Linked DNA regions of Homo sapiens: region 2 is linked to region 1. Evidence: promoter capture Hi-C in 16 types of primary human blood cells and fetal thymus (Javierre and others, 2016). All regions are on one chromosome and are shown on one strand. The core of a region is centred on a gene start or on the middle of the fragment in contact, and the rest is flanking DNA. Distances in the headings are between cores, read along the strand shown. Region 1 holds the start of IVNS1ABP (influenza virus NS1A binding protein). Region 2 overlaps ODR4 (odr-4 GPCR localization factor homolog).

Region 1 (5,936 bases), core at 2,295-4,794:
AAAGTCCAGACATCCCAGAGTCATATAAGAGTATGAAACGTAGAATTGTTTGGTGTTTAAAATACACTTTCAACTAAATCTACACCTAGGTCACTTTTCTTACACATTTAAAATTAAAACTAGGATCAAATACAATATATTCAGATAAATTCAGCATACTTCTATGGCCACTGCAAGGGATACCGAAGACTCATAAATGAGTAATTAAACTGCTTTAATAACACCCAGAAGTTCACAGCCCGGAAAGATTAGCTTAAGTGAAATACAATTCAACAGGTCTTATCAAAGAGTTGTTAAAAAGGTAGGCACAATATGGCCTCTGCTAAAATTTTTCTCTGGCCTTCAGTAAGACCAAGATAAAACAAAAGACAATCGTTTGAGGGCAGTCAGCTCCCACCAAGTAGCCATCAGCTGCATTTTTAAAGGAAAGACTTTATAATACAAAGTAAATCAACACATCTTTTTAAAACCAGAAGTTACAGCTTTCCAAAGTAACCTCTAAAACCACCATCACCATCCATGTATATGAAAACTCGCTGAACTCATTCATTCTATCCATGCTCATAGTTTTGTAATTCTTTCACTACAACACAAACATATGTAGCACCAAACATATGGAAGGCACAAACTGAAATGGAATGCTCATATCATAACACAATAGAAGTTAACTCAGTTCTCTAGCCTGGAACACTTCACAGGCCAGTCAGAAAGATAAAACAAGCTGTGAAATAGCTTAAGCAGAAAGGAAAAAAGGTATGATAGCAAATATATTCCAGAAACTGCAGCTATTTCAGTTTCAATAGATTGTAGATTTGCAGGATGCATATGGTAATAGTGGGCGAGGAAGTAAGAGAGCCTAATTCCAAGGTTTAAACAATGCTAAGCATGGAAAGTAGGTGAAGGATTTAAACAAGGAAGCATAGGGCATCCTAGCAGAAGTGTGGGGGATGGTCTAGAGGAATGAGTAAAGCATGGAAACAGGGCAGTTAAGATTCTGTACACCCATGCTCCTTTAAGGCAGTGAGGACTTAAGATATTTTATCTTAGATATGTGGCATCCTTATTAACATCAATTATCAAAATTAAGATATGTGGCATCCTTATTAAAATCAATTACCAAAAAGCATAACACAAAGTCGTTTATAGTTTGCTACATGGAGAAGGGAAGGAAGGAAAGGAAGAATTTGGTTTGAGACGTTCTAATGCTGAGGTATCTGCATGTTAATAACAAAAATATAATAGTATGATGTTAAGTATAGGTTCAGAAACATTTACAAGATATACAACTTGTAGTTTACAAGTATGTATTTTCTGTTGTTTTAACAAAAACCCAGAAATCAATCTCTTACTCACAATACTTCAATCTACACACACACTAGCACATGCACATGACATGGTGGGAAGACCCCCAACCTTTAATAATTCCTACTTGCAGGATTTGACTATACAATCGCACTGCTAAAAAGTGGATGAAATGACTTACTTAGTGTTACTTCATCTTAATATCAATTAAGATACTTCCTTAACAGGAAAACATTTATATTTAAAAACGTATTTGCAAAACTACATTTAATTACCATCTAACAAATCCTTCAAGCAAGAAAAAATCCCACCTTCCAAAAGCAAGTAGCCAAAAAGACACTAATTTAAAACTAAGACTAAAACCTGAAATGTTTTGTCTTGGGGGGAAAGTTAGAAAATCAACTACAAATTAAGACAATGGCTATAGAAATTAGTATCTATTAGTTAACCAGAGATATCATCTATTAGGAAAACACAGAGGAAAACCATTCCAGGGCTCTCTTTGGTCAGTGGCTCAAGTTCCGTTTACCTCTGGCTACCAAATTATAAGCTTGATAAGCAGCCTGCCAGCTGGCGTTAAATGATACTAGTCTCAATTCAATTCTAAAGTCCATGTTTACCTCACGTCCAGACTTAACAAATACAACTACTCTTTCAGTATCTTTAAGACAGAAGTGTCAGCAGGCTTTAGCCTAAAAGTAATCATCAGTATTTTGTTTTTCCTAAATCAATCACTGGTGCTAGAATTATTAAAAGAAAGCATGGCCTGTGGCAGTCTAGTCCATGCTGTACTTATTCATCTGTTAAGAGTGGTACTAGGCTTCCAGAGTTGTCATCTATTAGTAGACAGAAGACCACGACACACTCAACGAACAGCTTGATGCCAAGGTGTTCTAACGCTCCATCACTGCACGCTCCATCACAAAAATGCGCCCTTTTGGACATCTGATTTCTCCTTGAAATGTCAGCTGTCTCAAACCAATAGATATGTCCACTACCTATTGGGGGAAAAAGTAAATGTAGTTCTCAAGTAGTGGTTCAAGTTACCCTAGGTTCAACCCTCAGCCTGATACCTTCCTATCATCAAGAGCTTATAATCAGAGACACTTAACCAAAAGCGTGGAGGGACGGAAAAAGAGCAAATCTTGCCACTGATTTCTTTCATAAAAAAGAAAGAGCGTCCCAGGCCTTCCTCCTCGCGCAGCCAGGCCGGCGCCCACTCCGCAGGCTGCGAGGCGAGGCCCCCAGCACCCGCACACCCCCGCCCCGGATTGGCCAGCCCCGCAGTCACTCAGTACCGACACGTCAGGGCAGCCGCTCCCTCCCTCCTCCCGCCCCCTTCTCCCCGCGCTTGGCAAGAAAAGCGGGCAACGTGGAGCGGGAACAAAGGACCCCGCGGCCCACGGCGATCGGGGACTCCGTGCCACCCTACTCCAGGCCCGGGGCTGGCTGCCCGCCCACACGAGCCGAGTCTCGAGAGCTCTTCCAGAAGAGAATCCCAAACCCCAGGCAAACCCGAGGCGAGGCGTCCGTTCCTGACAGCAAGAACGGGGAGTCCCGCGCCCTCCTTCCGGCGGGTCATCCCCGCCCGCGGCGCCCTAACCCAGGCCCCCCAAAACCCTTCGAACAAAAAACTCTTGTTCCTCCCAGCCTGCCTCACCCGCGCCAGTGTAGCAAAGGGGCTCCAGCCTCCGCGCTCTCCGAGGCGACCGGCGCCCGCTCTCGGCCGCCAACGCAACTTGGCAACCATGGCAGCGCTGGAGCGCGGGCCCAGCGCGGCGCGGGCTTCACGTCCCAGAGGGCGGCGGCGGCCGCTTGGGGCTGCCTCCCCTGATGAGGACACCGCTTCCGCGCCTCCCACCCTCTTCCCATCCGCCGGCGCCATCCCTTCTTCTCGGATTCTAGCCGCGCCGTCTCCCTCATCTGTCGTTCGTAGAACCAGCGCGTATTACCTGGTTCATCTCTGAAGAGATGGAAACATTCATTTCTAGAGCTTCGATGGGAAGCAGGAGGAAGCGGGCGGGAATCGGCCCAACGGAAAGCGCCAGAAGGCGGCGGAAGACGGGAGCGGTCAAGTAGAAGGACGAGGGGCCAGTCCGTGGAGACTGAAAGGAAGGGGGAGCGCCACCGAGAACTCGCGGGAACTCGCTCGCTCGCCGATACAGCCGCGCCGAAGCAGCAGGCGGAGAAACTGCGCCCAGCAGCTCTGAGCGACCGACCTCCACGCGCGACCGGGAGACACTGCCTCCGCCGCCGCCGACCGCTCGCGCCGCACCCCCTCGCACGTCACCACGTGCGCTGCCGCCGCCGACGCCTCCCAGCCCGCTTCCGTCTCGAATCCATCTGCAAATCACAGGCGAGCTCCATAAAGATCCCACTCTAAGCCCCGCCCCACCCGCGGCCCCGCCCACATCCCGCCCCGCCTTCCTCCCTGGTCTACTGGGGTTCCTTCCTTCTCGGTGTAACTAGGTCAGCGCAAGGTGATCCTGAGGAGATAGGCGGCGCTCGGGGGGCGCCCTCGTTCCTCTTATCGCGCCTTTGTCCCTCCCTCCGTTCCTTGCCCCGCACCCTCACTTTCGCCGCCCTGTGCGTTGCCTGTCCCGGAACTGGTTCCCTCAAGCCGCCCTCACCTGTTCTGACTTCCCCTCGAGGCACAATAGCCTGAGAGATCAGACGTGGGAGATTAGATTGCTCGGCGTCAGACCTACTTCTAGGCAACCCCCCCTAGACTGGAGCTGCTCGTCGTGGACATTAGGATCTAGTTGGGCATGAGCCCTTAACTTAAGGGTCGGGGGGGAAGTGGCGGGTGCGGAGAGGAGGCGTGGAGAGTGTGAGGAAGAAGAGAGGCACTCTGAGAAGAAGTCGAACAACTAACCCCTCATTTGGCCTGGTTTGGGTGAGAAGATTGAGTCACTTGGGGAAAAAAATATTGGAGAAGTCAGAGAAGGTGTAAATCAGTGGTGCCACAAACACCAGTTTACTTCCACTTTTCACCCCCCGGGTCTGTTTTGTCTGCGTGCAGCTCTCCTCGTGTCGGAGACGCTGAGTCAGTTCTCTACTGGTCTTGCCCTCTTCCGGAAAAAGAAAACACACCTGAGAAGTGGTAGTTCCTATCCTAACCTACTGGGGCCCTTTATACCAGGTGCCAAACTTCATTATCCACCCCACCACCTTGCCCGGGAGGGAGATCTGTGAAAGCGAAACGTGATTTAAGCTGGGATCTGGCAGCAACTTCGTGGACTCTGAAGGGCACGTGGGAAAGGAGTTTTGATTGAAGGTGAGGGATTTAGTGAGGTAAAATTATATCCAAATTAGAGTTTGGTAAAGGCTTCCAGGTTAATGTCCTGTTAACGCTTATCCTGATTTGTGGAGGACACTTAAGCTGTCTAGGCCTAACCTTGTGTTTGATCACTCACCTTAATTTGTAGACATTCTAGGAGCTCTTTGTCAATGCCTCTTACCATTTTTATCATTAACTATTTATGCTTATAGAAGCAGGAAAAATAAATTGTGGGAGCCTTCATCTGCAATAGGTTTACAACTTTTTTTCTAAAATCTTGAGGCAAGGAGACTTATTCCCCCGCCCCTTTTTTTCTCACAGATTTCTTGTATGTCTCCCTCGCCCCGCCCGCACCCCGTCCCCCCGCCCCCGGACAATTAATTGTAGGAGGAAACAAGAACTAAGATGTCTATTCGAGTGATTTTTTATATCTTTCTTAAGGAGAAAAAGACTGACATTTGACACTGTGCTCTTGTTTTGTCTTGCTGATAATAACTGACAGCAATGTTTACTTTTCTTACAAATGAAACTATCAGGGTACGTACTTTTAAGCTCTTTAATACAATGGGTTTCATCCTTCCAGTGGGAGAGTATGAATTGCCCACTCTGCGTAGACACATGACTGCTGGCCTGTTGGACACATGGTCACACTTGCTATACTCTAAATAGTGTCTTTGTGACCTGAAACAGTCAACACTTTTCTTAAAGCTACAGTGTGCCCACACTCATTGTATTTTTGCTTTGTATGGAATTTCAAATTTACTTATTACCTTCTCTATGAATAATAGCATAACTTATGCATTCCATTTATGCCTTTCAGGGAACCTGATGGTTAATTTCTACCTCTTAAAGTAACACATTATGTTGTAAGATTTTGCTCTTAATATAGCAGTCCCCCTTATCCTTGGTTTCACTTTCCAAGATTTTGTCAACCATGGCCCAAAAATGTTACATCACTACTCTTGCATTTGGGGGGTATTATTACATAAAATGATAGTTATATGAACACAAGCACTGTCACACTGCAACAGTCTGACAACCCAGACAGCAACTGGCTAATGGCAATCTGGGCAGGGACAGAGCAGACTGTGCTCCTCAGAATGGTGCACAATTTAAAACTTATGAATCGTTTATTTCTGGAATTTGCTATTTATGTCACAATACTTATGTCATTCACCTCACTTCATCTCATCATGTAGGTATTTTATCATCTCACATCACAAGAAGGAGAAGGGTGAGTTCAGTACACTAAGATGCTTTGAGAGGGAGACCATACATAACTTTTATTACAGTACACTCTTAAAATTGTTTTATTTTATTATTATTATTTTTTGAGACAGAGCTTCTTGTCTCC
Region 2 (5,936 bases), core at 1,910-4,409, 1.1 Mb after region 1:
GGATCACCTGAGGTCAGGAGTTCGAGACCAGCCTGGCCAACATGGTGAAACCCCGTCTCTACTAAAAACACAAAAATTAGCCGGGCATGGTCGTGAGCCCCTGTAACCCCAGCTACTCAGGAGGCCGAGGCAGGAGAATCACTTGAACCTGGGAGGCAGAGGTTACAGTGTGCCGAGGTTGCGCCACTGCACTCCAGCCTGGGTGACAAGAGCAAAACTCCGTCTCAAAAAAAAAAAAAAAAAAAAGAAATCTGGTGTGTTGCTTACTAGTTTAGTATCCTCTCCCTTATCCCAGGTATGAGTAAAAGGTTTGATCTCTCATGTCAACTCTGGTTGATTTGTGGTTGTTTCCTGCTGCATTGTATTGAGAAGAACTCTGGAACTGCATCTGAACTTTGCAAGAAGGAATACACTATGTAATAAGTATTTGCTGCAAGGCATGAGATAGCCTCAGGATAGTATCACTTCTCTTGCTAAACTACTCCCATGATAAAGACATTGCAAATGATATTTTACCTAAATGCTGTATCTTTTCTTCTTGTGATATAGGAGATTTTAGTTCCTAAAAATGGGAAGAACCTACATTGTAGAAGAGACTGTTGGCCAGTATCTTTCAAACATAAATCTCCAAGGAAAGGCTTTTGTCTCTGGCCTTTTAATAGGACAGGTATGTATCTTTTACTCTGCATTTATAACTAAATAATTACTCTGTAATTTATTTTAAAAATTACTTGTTGATTTAAAGTTAAAAGATGCTATTTAATAATAAACTCAAGATTGGGGGATGGAAGAAGAAATGTGGAAGAAGTAACTTTAAAGTAGGTCTTTGAGGAAACATGGAGAAGTAGACAAACCTAGCCCAATTTTGCTCGTCAGGACACCTTCCCCTTTGACCATGTAAACGTAATTTATAATATGGAAACTTCAGAATTAGAATGTTTATTGACCAGATTTTTCACATTTTGTTGTCTTTCCAAAGTGTTTTGTATTCCCTTCTAATCTTTTTAATATCTGGTTGTCCAGTTCTTTACAAAAGAAGCTTTTGAAAATTTTATTCCTGTTCTAATTTGTGTTGTCTTATATCAGACTTATGGCAACAGTGGTCATATTTTTGTTGTAAGCTATAGTACCCATCTTACTGAATTTTTTGTTGTTGTTGTTGGATCAATAGGGAGGGAGAGGGATTGGGAAAAATTTGGAAATTAGACAAATTCTAATTTCCTCTTAGAGCTGAGTCTTAAAAACACAAAATGGAACAGAGATTCAGATACTTATTTTAAAACCCATGCCACTGATTTCTTATGAGTGAAGGAAGAACGTGTTAATCGGCAGGAGGGACCGGTCAGCAGTACAAAGCCAAAAAAAAAAAAAAAGGAGAGTCACACAGGCAAGCTGACTGTGTCCATCCAAACACAGGAGAGTGCACTTTGGCCCAAGGACTTGATTTTGAGGCCTACTAGCCAATAAAGCTCTTATTGGGACAATTTTCTTTCTAGATATCTTAGCCTGATGCCTTAGAATCTTCAAATTACATAATTAACTTTCCTTATTCTGATTCTACCCATATTCCCAAGCTACTTTCTTTTATAATTTGATGCCCCATGTTATCTACTTATAAAGAATACACTGTCCAGAGGACTCAAGTGTTCAGATGCCTTCATGACATTTTAGTTTTCTACATCATTCTGAATAAACTTAATCAATGTCAGTCTAGCCATGAAAGACAGGCTCATTTTCAGAATTTTTACAAATCAGATTTCTTAATTTGCAAGACAGAGGGCAGATCTACATGGTTCAACCAGGTAGCACCACTCTGTGAGGCCTCTCATTAGACAGCCAGACTGCCTCTCTTGAGAACAGTGTGAATTTCTTTTTAATTCAGTTGTAATGTGGGGCTCTTTTTGTTAGGAGTTTTCTATTTAAGTTTTTTTCTTTCTCTTTGTTTAAAACATTTAAGAGAAGAAGAGTCTTAGAGAAAGATGTGATCAGTAGAGATAAAAAGTCAGGGAGAAAGACCCTCTTCTAAATTTGTCTTAACTGGATAAAGGTTGTTTCTAAAGCTCAGGCAAACTGCCATCTTACAAATGAGTGTCTCATAATTTAAGGCCTTCCTTCTTTTTTTTTTTTTTGAGACGGAGTCTCGCTGTCGCCCAGGCTGGAGTGCAGTGGCGCAATCTCGGCTCACTGCAGGCTCCGCCCCCTGGGGTTCACGCCATTCTCCTGCCTCAGCCTCCCGAGTAGCTGGGACTACAGGCGCCCGCCACCTCGCCCGGCTAATTTTTTGTATTTTTAGTAGAGACGGGGTTTCACCGTGTTAGCCAGGATGGTCTCGATCTCCTGATCTCGTGATCCGCCTGCCTCGGCCTCCCAAAGTGCTGGGATTACAGGCGTGAGCCACCGCGCCCGGCCTAAGGCCTTCCTTCTATCTCTTTTTATGCTGTAGTATGTATTGCTCACGGACAGAGCAATTCATTCCTTTCAGTATTCTACGTGCTTTTTCTTCCAGAGTTCATTACTTTTTCCTCTCCTTCCTCTTAAGCTTGCCTGTTTCCTGGTCTCTGTCAGTTTCTTTTTCTTTTCAAAGTTATACATTTTATGAAGAAAAGAGGAGCCTTCTTAACTGAGACCTACTTTCTTTTCCTGTGTTTATTTGAATGTAACTTCCTGAAAATAACCTGTAGGAATAGTTACTCTTATTTTCTATCCCAAGATGATACTAATGATCAGAGTTTCAGGTCATGTGTGGGGAAGATACAATGCTAACTTGCATTAGCAGTGTTATTTTCACTCTTTTTTTATAGGAAACTTTCACTGTAGTGAAACTGAGCTATTGAATGTTCCCCTACATTTATTTTTAGATCTCCCAACTTTGGTTACTACTTAACTGATATTACAGCTGAAGAACAGATTGGGTGTGGTGGCTCATGCCTGTAATCCCAATGCTTTGGGAGGCCGAGGTGGGAGGATTGCTTGAAGGTCAGAGTTTGACCTAGCCTGGGCAACATAGCAAGACTCTGTCTCTACAAAAAAGTAAAAAAAAAAAAAAAAAAAAGCCAGGCATTATGGCTGATTGTTTGAGCCTGTAGTCCTAGCTACTTGGGAGACTACTTGGGGGGAGGATTGCTTGAGCCCAGGAGTGCAAGGTTGCAGTGAGCTATGATCACACCACTGCACTCCAGCCTGGGCATTAGAGCAAGACCCTGTCTCTAAATAAATAAATAAATACACACACACACAAAGAACAAAAAACAAAACAAAACAAAAAACTTGAGGAACATAGAATCTGTATCACTTTAAATTGTGTCCCAAATCCCCTTTGTTATTCTGTGGAAATGTATGTGGAAGTTCCCTACTGTCATCATTTCAATTAAAATAAGATACAAAAGGTCACTTGTTGTTTCATTTTACTAATATTTTCCGATCTGTTCATTTATAACTTATAAAACAAATATAACTAGAAAACTGAATAAGCATATTACTTTTTAGTTAATGTAATTCATTCACTCATCCAGTAAACCATTTTTAGGGACCACTCCATGATTTACATTTGAGTTGTCCAAATAAATAAGAAGCTGATATTAAATACATTAAAAGATAAACAACATGTGAGGGAAAGATTGTAAGGCCATCCTTGAAAATTAGCTTCCCTTTAGCTTCCATTATAATGTGGGTATTAATGATTTAACCTGTTACAAATATTACTCAGTTTTTGCATGTCATAAAAGCTAAGGAATTTAGGTATCACTCTAATTAGATTGAGGAATCAGATATCACTCTAACAAGCTTTTTAATTTGTTGTTGAAGTGTTCGTCACAAAAGGATTATGTGATTCTTGCCACTAGAACGCCACCCAAAGAGGAGCAAAGTGAGAACCTCAAACATCCCAAAGCTAAGTTGGATAACTTGGATGAAGAATGGGCCACAGAACATGCCTGCCAGGTTATCTTATTTTTTTGTTTATATGTTTAAGTTTTATTTCAAAAAAGAGCTAGAATCAAGAAGATTTAGTGAATGAGTAGAGAGAAGAGACATAGGGAGAAAGTAGCTAAAGATGACTGAGATTTTTAGTCTGGGTGTCTAGGAGGATACTGTTGGCATTACACGAGGAAGAAACAGATTTGGGATGGGTGAGTGGGAATAATGACTAAATTAATTCACTTACAAGTATTTATTGAATGAATTATATATCATCAAATAAATAATGTTAGAATAAGGTAAAAATAGAATTATTTCCTTTTCTGGGGTTGGGGGTGAGGGGAGGGAACTTAGAGGACAGGTCAATAGGTGCAGCAAGCCACCATGGCACACGTAAACCTATGTGACAGACTTGCACATTCTGCGTTTTTGTTTGTTTGTTTTAAGAAAAAGAATTTTCTTTAATAAATAAAAGATTTATTTCCTTTTCCAATCAACTTTAAATCTTTAAATCTTTTAAACTCAAACGTGTTTCTGTGTATGTAGATATATATATATATATATATGGACATATATTTGTGTCTGTGTATGTGTTTGATTATGGAGCAGTGTGTAGTTATATTTAAAAAAAAAATAAAATCTTGCCTGTAATCCCAGCACTTTGGGAGGCCAAGGTGGGTGGATCACCTGAGGTCAGGAGTTCAAGACCAGCCTGGCCAACATGGTGAAACCCCGTCTCTAGTAAAAATATGAAAAACTAGCCAGGTGTGGTGGCAGGTGCCTGTAATCCCAGCTACTTGGGAGGCTGAGGCAGGAGAATTGCTTGAACCTGGGAGGCGGAGGTTGCAATGAGCCAAGATCACACCATTGCACTCCAGACTGGGCGACAAAGCGAGACTCTGTCTCAACAAAACAAAACGAAGAAATCCAGTATTTAATTATTATTGTTTTAGTCTGTTTGGGTGGCTATTAAGGAATACCTAAGACTGAGTAATTTATAAAGAAAAAAAGGCCTGTTTGGCTCATGATTCTGCTGGCTGCAAGATTGAGCATCTGGTCAAAGCCTCAGGCTGCTTCTGTTCATGTCAGAAGGCAGATTGGAGCTGGTGTGTAAAGATCACTGGGCCAGAGAGGAAGCAAGGGGTTGGGAGGTGCTAGGCTTTTTTTTTTAACAACCAGCTCTCGTAGGAACAAATATAGCGAGAACTCATTCACTGCTCTGAGGATGGAACCAAGCCATTAATGAGGGATCTGCCCCATGACCCAAACACCTTCCATTAGGCCCCACTTGGGTTCACATTTCAACATGGTGTTTAAGGGGACAAACATGGCAACTATCTTCTAAAGAAAATATTAAGTAATGTAAAGTTAAATTCCCAATGGTTTGTAAATAACTTTCTACTCTAATTTTGCTTTTGGTCTCTCATAAAATTGTATATGACACACACACACACACACACACACACACACACAGAATATTAATGAATTTATATAGTAAATTAGCTTAACCTTTTACCTCTAGAAAGAAAAGGTTAATTTTACTTTTTCCCCTTTCTTGCTCTCACCTCCATCTCCTAAAAAATGGTTACTTTTTTGTGTTGGTGATTTTGAAAAGATATGCAGGCTCCTTATGCTAAATATGAAAACTTTATTTGTCAGAATTGTGCTACTATAGTAAATAGAATTTATTAAATCAGAGGAAAACACCGAAAGACATAGTGCAAGTAGATTAAGGATTAGAGCATGGTACCTAATTTTCTAAGACTGTACTCTGATTGATTGCTTGTACATTAAGTAATCAAAAGCTAACCAAAACACTCTAATCTCTGAGTGTAGATGATAGAAAAAAATCCATGTGGTATTAAGAACTAGCCACAATCATGTGAAGGGAAATACAGATATGGAGATATCATGGTAGTATGTATCAAAAACCTTAAAAATATGTATAACTTCTTAAACCAGTTATCCACCTCAAGGGATTTGTCCTAAACAAATAATTCTATGAATGCAGAAAGATGTAC

What was found. The method cuts DNA at HindIII sites, captures the fragments that hold promoters and counts their contacts. A CHiCAGO score of 5 or more calls a contact.
Region 2: a contact is called between a fragment that was not itself captured here and the fragment with the promoter of IVNS1ABP in region 1, in 1 of 17 cell types (fetal thymus). The highest score is 8.2, in fetal thymus.

What each region holds. Positions count from the first base shown.
Region 1 is chr1:185,313,699-185,319,634 of GRCh38, forward strand. It overlaps IVNS1ABP (influenza virus NS1A binding protein), which reads right to left and starts at 3,545. Exons shown (of 15, transcript NM_006469.5): 1 at 3,255-3,545. It overlaps CBSLR (CBS mRNA stabilizing lncRNA), which reads left to right and starts at 3,754. Exons shown (of 4, transcript XR_007066771.1): 1 at 3,754-4,579. RefSeq lists enhancers at 2,871-3,484, 4,134-4,233, 4,484-4,563 and silencers at 2,974-3,033, 3,494-3,803. The HindIII fragment of the contact is 11,176 bases long and covers 1,851-5,936 here.
Region 2 is chr1:186,379,218-186,385,153 of GRCh38, forward strand. ODR4 (odr-4 GPCR localization factor homolog) reads left to right here. Exons shown (of 14, transcript NM_017847.6): 2 at 550-667; 3 at 3,805-3,939. The coding sequence starts at 569. Among named protein-coding and RNA genes, the nearest start is that of ODR4, 6.3 kb to the left of the region's middle. The HindIII fragment of the contact is 1,244 bases long and covers 2,538-3,781 here.